2 separate regions of the Homo sapiens genome follow, and region 1 is linked to region 2. The links are contacts of gene promoters, found by promoter capture Hi-C in blood cells and fetal thymus (Javierre and others, 2016). All regions are on one chromosome and are shown on one strand. Each heading gives the region's core, a stretch centred on a gene start or on the middle of the fragment in contact. The rest is flanking DNA. Distances are from core to core; before and after follow the strand shown. Region 1 has its middle 5.0 kb from the start of MIP. Region 2 holds the start of ERBB3 (erb-b2 receptor tyrosine kinase 3).

Evidence for each region. The method cuts DNA at HindIII sites, captures the fragments that hold promoters and counts their contacts. A CHiCAGO score of 5 or more calls a contact.
Region 1: a contact is called between a fragment that was not itself captured here and the fragment with the promoter of ERBB3 in region 2, in 1 of 17 cell types (naive CD8 T cells). The highest score is 5.2, in naive CD8 T cells.

What each region holds. Positions count from the first base shown.
Region 1 is chr12:56,457,884-56,461,360 of GRCh38, reverse strand. No RefSeq gene overlaps it. Among named protein-coding and RNA genes, the nearest start is that of MIP, 5.0 kb to the right of the region's middle. The HindIII fragment of the contact is 596 bases long and covers 1,381-1,976 here.
Region 2 is chr12:56,078,299-56,081,856 of GRCh38, reverse strand. ERBB3 (erb-b2 receptor tyrosine kinase 3) reads right to left here and starts at 1,692. Exons shown (of 28, transcript NM_001982.4): 1 at 1,475-1,692. The coding sequence starts at 1,556. RefSeq lists an enhancer at 1,045-2,035. The HindIII fragment of the contact is 9,077 bases long and covers 1-3,558 here.

The DNA.
Region 1 (3,477 bases), core at 429-2,928, 380 kb before region 2:
TCAGTCCTGGACATCCTTAGAGGTGACTATGGTAATCACATGGGACCCACTGTGGAGGAACACAGCAAGAAAAATAGCTCTGCCTGCAGATTTCCTAAGCTATATAGACCCACTTGCTCTCTATTACTATGGATTATGGTTGTATAGCACTCTCTGGGACTAAGCAATGGAGCCTTCCTTATTGAAGTGGGGAGTAAGCTAGGATCACTGTCACTGTCCTAAAGTTTGAAAGACTGATCATTAGTAATCAAGAGCTAACTCAGTTAAGTATAGAGACAAATGAGAATTCAGGGTGATTACTGCTAGGAGCCATTAAGATTTATAATAACTTTGTAATTACTCAAATTTGTTATTTTACAAATCCTTTCTCCATTTTCATAGTCCCTGTTGGAAAAAACTTCAAAAACATTTGTATACTTACTTAATGCCAGAAGAAAAGAAAGGTGGAGAATCTATAGCTAAAAACATTTTGCAACCCCTGAAAAGAACCCCAAATACAAGAATGAAGTAGAATAATAGCAAAGGGGGGAACAAGTGAACAAGAAAAAAAGAGGAAGATGAACTGGAGTGTGTCCTGGCATCACCCGGGAGGGTTAGACCCCAGAAATCCCCTTATTCCTAGGCAATTCTCCAAAGTCACCTTCCTTGGCAGATTTCTTTTCTTTTGTTTTTGTTTTTATTTTGTTTTGTTTTTTAAGACAGAGTCTCACTCTGTGGTCCAGGCTGGAGTGCAGTAGTGCAATCATGGCCCACTGCAGCCTCAACCTCCACAGGCTCAGTGAACCACGCTAAGGCCTGGTTATTTTATGGTGTTGTTTTGAGACAGGGTTTCACTCTGTTGCCCAGGCTGGAGTGCAGTGGCACCATCACAGCTCACCGCCTCAGCCTTCCAAGTAACTGGGACCACAGGTGCATCCCACTTCTGAAGGGAGACACAGCCTTTTTTTGTTTTTTGTTTTTTGTTTTGAGATGAAGTCTTGCTCTGTCGCCCAAGCTAGAGTGCAGTGGTGCAATCTCGGCTCACTGCAAGCTCCGCCTCCCTGGTTCACGCCATTCTCCTGCCTCAGCCTACCGAGGAGCTGGGACTACAGGCGCCTGCCACCACGCCCGGCTAATTTTTTGTATTTTTAGTAGAGACGGGGTTTCACCGTGTTAGCCAGGATGGTCTCGATCTCCTGACCTCGTGATCCGCTCGCCTCGGCCTCCCAAGGGCTGGTATTACAGGCGTGAGCCACTGCGCCTGGATTGTATTTGTTTTTTGTTGTTTTTTTGTTAAAAAGGCTAGGCTAAGGCTGGGTGAGGTGCCTCACGCCTGTAATCCCAGCACTTTGGGAGGCCAAGGCAGGCAGATTGCTTGAGCCCAAGAGTTCAAGATAAGCTTGGGTCACACGGCAAAACCCCATCTCTACAAAAAATACAAACATTAGCTAGGTGTGATGGTGCATGCCTGTAGTCCCAGCTATTTGGGAGGCTGAGGTGGTGGGAGGATTGTTTGAGCCTGGGAGATTGCGTCACTACACCCCAGCCTGGAGTCTCACCTTTTTTGAGACAGAGCAAGACCCCGTCTCAAAAAAAAAAAAAAAAAAAAAAAAAAAAAAGGCCAGGTTCTATGGTTATGCTTGTAATCCCAGCACTTTGGGAGGCTGAGGTGGTAGAATCGGTAGGTTGGCTTGAAGCCAGGAGTTTGAGACCAGCCTGGGCAACGCAGTAACACCTCATCTCTACAAAAAATTTTTAAATAAGCTGGGTGCAGTGGCACGTGCCTGTAGTCTCAGCTACTCAGGGGGCTTAGGTGGGAGGATTGCATGAGCCCAGAAGTTTAAGACTGCAATGACCTTTGATAGCGCCACTGCACTCCAGCCTGGGCAACACAGTGAGACTATGTCTGTAAAAAAAATAAAAATAAAAGGCTAGGCTAGTAGAAAACAATAAGCATACTAATTGTATGTAAATCTATGCAAAAACTCAAGTAAGCTTTTAAGAGTTCATCTCTAGTTAGGTTTGAAAGAGGCTGGCATTTATCTAAGTGGGGAGACTGATGTCAAAGGAAATGGGCCGAGGTTTAGTTCTCCATGGAATTCTTGTCAATGTTTGATGAAGAATAGAGGCAAGAGGATGGTAGCTGCAGATAAGGAAAGCTAGCCATTTTATTTGTCGTCTATAAGAGATTGAATTAACTGCCCTTTGCTGTTCCATCTCTTATTATAAGAGGCTACAGGATTAGTGGGTAGAGATAACCCATTCCTGTTAATAAAACCCCATTGAGTGGCTTCTGTTTACTTTTTAAATTTTTTAATTATAATTTTTTTTTTTGAGACGGAGTCTCACTCTGTCTCCCAGGCTGGAGTGCAGTGGTGTGATCTCAGCTCACCACAGCCTCCACTTCCTGGGTTCAAGTGATTCTCTTGCCTCAGCCTCCCAAGTAGCTGGGATGACAGGTGAACACCATGACGCCTGGCTAATTTTTTTGTGTATTTTTAGTAGAGATGGGGTTTTGCCATGTTGGCTAGGCTGGTCTTGAATTCCCAACCTCAGATGATCCGCCCACCTCAGCTTCCCAAAGTGCTGGGATTACAGGTGTAAGCCACCGCACCCAGCCAAATTTTCAATTTTTTTTGAGACAGGGCCTGACTCTGTCACCAAGGCTGGAGTGCAGTGGTGCCATCTCAGTCCACTGCAACCTCTACCTCCCAGGCTCAAGTCATCCTCCCACCTCAGCCTCCCCAGTAGCTGGGACTACAGGTGTGTGCCATTGTGCCTGGCTAATTTTTGTATTTTTTGTACAGGAGGGGTTTTGCCATATTGCCCACGCTGCTCTCTGACTCCTGAGCTCAAACGATCCTCCTACCTCAGCCTCCTGATTTGCTGGGACTACAGGTGCAGGTAGCTCCTGTTTTTAAGTGCTTTATTCTGTGCCAGACACTGTACTAGTCTCTTTACCTACATTATCTTATTTGATACAGAGGAAACTGAGACTCAGAAAGCTTATGCTAATCTGGCCAGGTGCAGTGACTCAGGCTTGTAATCCCAGCACTTTGGGAAGCCTCGGCAGGCGGATCACTTGAGGCCAGGAGTTCGAGATCAGCCTGGCCAACGTGGTGAAACCCTGTCTCTACTAAAAATACAAAAATTAGACAGGTGTGGTGGCGTGCACCTGTAATGCCAGCTATTTGGGAGGCTTGAACCCAGGAGGTGGAGGTTGCAGTGAGCTGAGATGGCACCACTGCACTCCAGAGTGAGAGACTCTGTCTCAAAAAAAAAAAAAAAAAAGCAAGCAAGCTTATGCTAATCTAATCTATTCGGCAAATATTTATTTACTGCCTTCTGTGTGTTAAGCACCAGGTTCGCACTGGTGAAAAATCAGACATGGGCCCTGCCCTCCTGGAACCTATATATAGCGGGGATAACTTGCCCAACTAGAAAGTGGTAAAGCATATATTGTTGTCACTGCTGTTTTTAATTAATTTGGGGTACACA
Region 2 (3,558 bases), core at 443-2,942:
GAGCACTAGGGGTGGGATAGAGCCAGAATCTCCAGCCCCTCCTCAACCAGAGGCCTCCCCTCCAACATCCCCCACCCCCATCACAGCCAGGACAAAGGGGCTATAGAAGGACTGAGACAGGGCCGGATGCCCAGAGGCTGCAGGACCCAGATAAAGGGTAAAGAGACCCAACCATGCCTGCCTCCTGCCTCCCCAGGGAGGGTGGCCAGACTCTGGTACTCCTGGGTTTCTGGGTGAAGATTGCAGGAGTCTGGATGGGACAGTTATACAGTCACTCCACTGCTCCCTCCCACGCCAGTCCCCAGACCACCCCCCTCCACCAGCTGGGAGTGTTCACATCTAAAAATCCCAGGATCTAAATTTAGGCCCAGCAACTGTGAGGGAAGCACAGGTGGTTTCTTCCACTCCCACACTGGGGAAGGGGCCCTGGCTGTGCCAAACCCCAAGCTGAGATCTGAGGGGAGGGGAGGAGATCCACAGAACTTCAGTCCTCAGGTGTCCACGGTCCCAGAGACACCCCAAAGGGGTGGGCTCAGATAGCATGGGAGTCGGGGGAGGACTGGAGAAGAGCAATCCGGGGCTCTGTCTAGGGTCCTAGAGACAGTGTCAGACAATAAGCAAAATGGGGGCGGGAGGCACAAGCTGAGCCCAGGAAGGACTCCCCAAGGCAGGAGGCTTAGAAAGTAGCAGAGGTGCCCTCTTGATCCTCAGGTTGGGGAGAGAAAAGACCAGAGGCTGGACATCCTTGCCCTTACAGCTCCTGGCCCAGGGCCTTGTGTATAGTAGATGCTCAATAAATATGAGTTGTGTTGACCTGGGTCTTGACAAAGAGATGTTGCTTAAGCTCTGCTATACTGAGGAAAGGGGGCGCCAGCCTCTGTTGGGCCTCCTGCCTGATGTCACCTGAACTTGGCCCTCTGGTTAATCTCAGACCTCCCCAGGGCAGGCTCACTCACGGAAGAGGAGGTGCCGCTCCTGTTTTTCCAACACCAGAGAACAACAACCCCCTCCAACCTTCTGTAGCTCCGCCCTGTCGGCAAAACAACGAAACTAGGGGTAGCTGAAATCGGCGCGGGTGGGGGGCAGGGGGTTGGCGAGCAAACCGAGACCCTTCCCGCCAAGGCCCCCACCTCCAAGCACCTCCTGTTTACAGAATGAAGTTCCCTGCTCCCCTCCCTGCAGGGCCCCTCAGAAGTGTGAACTACTGTTTCGGCCTCAGCCTCTTCTGGGGAGACCAATTAGAGGGTCGGCGACGCTCTGGAGAAGGGTGGCGTGAGGGTCCCGGAATGCCGCCCTCGGCCGGACCACGCCGATAACCCGAGCCTGACCGCCCCTCTCCCAGGTGGTCCTGGCAAACCGGGGGCAGCACCCACAACCCCGCGCCGCCTGAGACCGTGCCCATACCCTCCGAGGCTGCGCGCACTGGGTTCCGGCTCCCAGGTGCCGAGCCCGCCGGTGCTCTCGCGCCACTTACCTGCCTGAGAGTTGCCCACCTCGGAGCCCCGGGCCAGGCTGAAAAGCAAGCCCAGCACCTGCAGAGCGTCGTTCGCCCTCATGACTCCGCAGAGGGTGAAGGGAGCCCAGCCAAGTCCGGCCCGGGGGCCCCTAGGCTAGGACATCGAGGCAAGAGCCACCTGAACCGCTGGCGAATTGGTGGCTGCTGCGGCGACGGCAGCGGAGGTTGCAAATTGCAATCGGAGCCGGAGCCGGAGTCCGGGGAGGGATGGCAGGGGAGGGGTGTGTGTGTGTGAGAGAGAGAGAGAGAGGGAGGGAGGAACGCAGAGGGAAGGGGGTGAGTCACGGCCGCGCCCCCTCCCGCGCGAGGCTGGAGTAGGGATTGCGGAGCCTCGGACCGCCTGCCCCGAGCGTGCCACGCCCCGCGGTCCCGCAACTTGGCGGAGCAGATCGAGGATGGGGCTCACCCTAATTTTTCTGCAGGAGATAGGCCAAGGGGAGGTCGAGATTCCGAAAGCCCCCAGATCCAGGGAAGGGTAATGAATGAGGGAGTGGAAAGCTCTCCAAAGCCCTGCCCCCTGAAAGTTGGCCTCGCCCATTAACCAAATCACTCAACTCCCCTAGCCGGTTGGTTCACTTGGTGGATTTTCTCTCAGAATGTGAATATTTCTCTCTGTGTGTTTTTGAGGGGGAGGGTGTTTTTTGCCTCACGTCCAGGCCACCTCAGTTTCTCCCAGACTCGAAACCCCATAATTCATCCACCCAGCCCAGGAACCCGAGCCACAGAGACCGCGTGAAATTGCACTGTCTCTGGCCGCTTCCTCCTCCAGACCCGGCGCCGGCCGGGCCTCTCCCGGGGATTTGGATGGGGGGCGGGGGTGGTTTCCAGCCTGGGAACAGACCCCGGAGCCCGCCTTTCCACTTCTACCCCGGGAGGGGCTCCCGCACCTGTCGCCGTCCCCTCTGCTGCCCCCCACGGCCGCCTGGGAGAACAGCTGCCTCCCCTTCCACACTGGAGTCTGGCCGCACCGTCCGGGCGGCCGCAGTTCCCGCCGCTCTTCTGGGGACCCAGATGGGCACACACCAAGGCGCTTACACCCTCCCAGGTGCCTTCCAAGTCCAGGCTCTCGCAGGAAAGGGGATGGGGCAGTGAAGTGGGACGCGGAGAGGACACTAGAGACTGCGTCCACGAATGGCGTGGACCTCTGGAACCTCCCCCACCAGCTGCCCGGACCTGGCCAGAGGCGGTCGGGCTCCCTGCGGGTTGCTGCCCAAAGCCCTGCTAGTCCCGGGACGGATCCGACCGGCGCCGCCTGGTGCCCATCCGTGGCAGTGGAGTCCCAGACGGCCTTGCATTTCAAATCCCTTAAACTGGTATTCGGGATCTCGCCCGGAGAGCCTAGTTGTTTTCTCCAGAACTTCAAGCCTGAAGACTTCGAAAACAGTTGAGCCTTGATAAAGAAAAATTTCACCCCTCACACCTAGCAAAGACTACCGGCTAACATTCCTTAAACATGCTCCCTATTGATATGCAACCTAGAGGGCCTGTTCTCTACTGGAGAATCTCCGCTTTGGGGAGGTTGGCTTTCTCCAGACCATGTGTATAGTAGTCATAATAATAATAGCAACAACAAAACCATTAACATATACAAACATTTCCATATATCATTTCATTTACAAAGTATGTCCTCAAACTTAGTGCCTTAGAGAATGTGTCACTTAACATAAAAATTATATGATTTAGGCAATATAACTCCCCATTTTACAGAACTAGAAGTGTGTGACCTCTCCAAGGTCATCCACCTGGTGACAGTGGTTGAGGTGATCAGGTGATTGGGAGGTGGGGCTCAGACTTTTACCTAGGGTTTCTTTCTCTCTTTTTTTTTCTTTTCTTTTTTTTTTTTTTTGAGACAGAGTTTCGCTCTTGTTGCCCAAGCTGGAATGATCCACCTGCTTCAGCCTGCCAAAGTGCTGGGATATCTTCCATCTTAAAAAACAAAACATTCGGCTGGGCGCGGTGGCTCATGCCTGTAATCCCAGCACTTTGGGAGGCCGAGGCGGGCAGATCACTTGAGGTCAGGAGTTCGAGACCAGCCTAGTCAA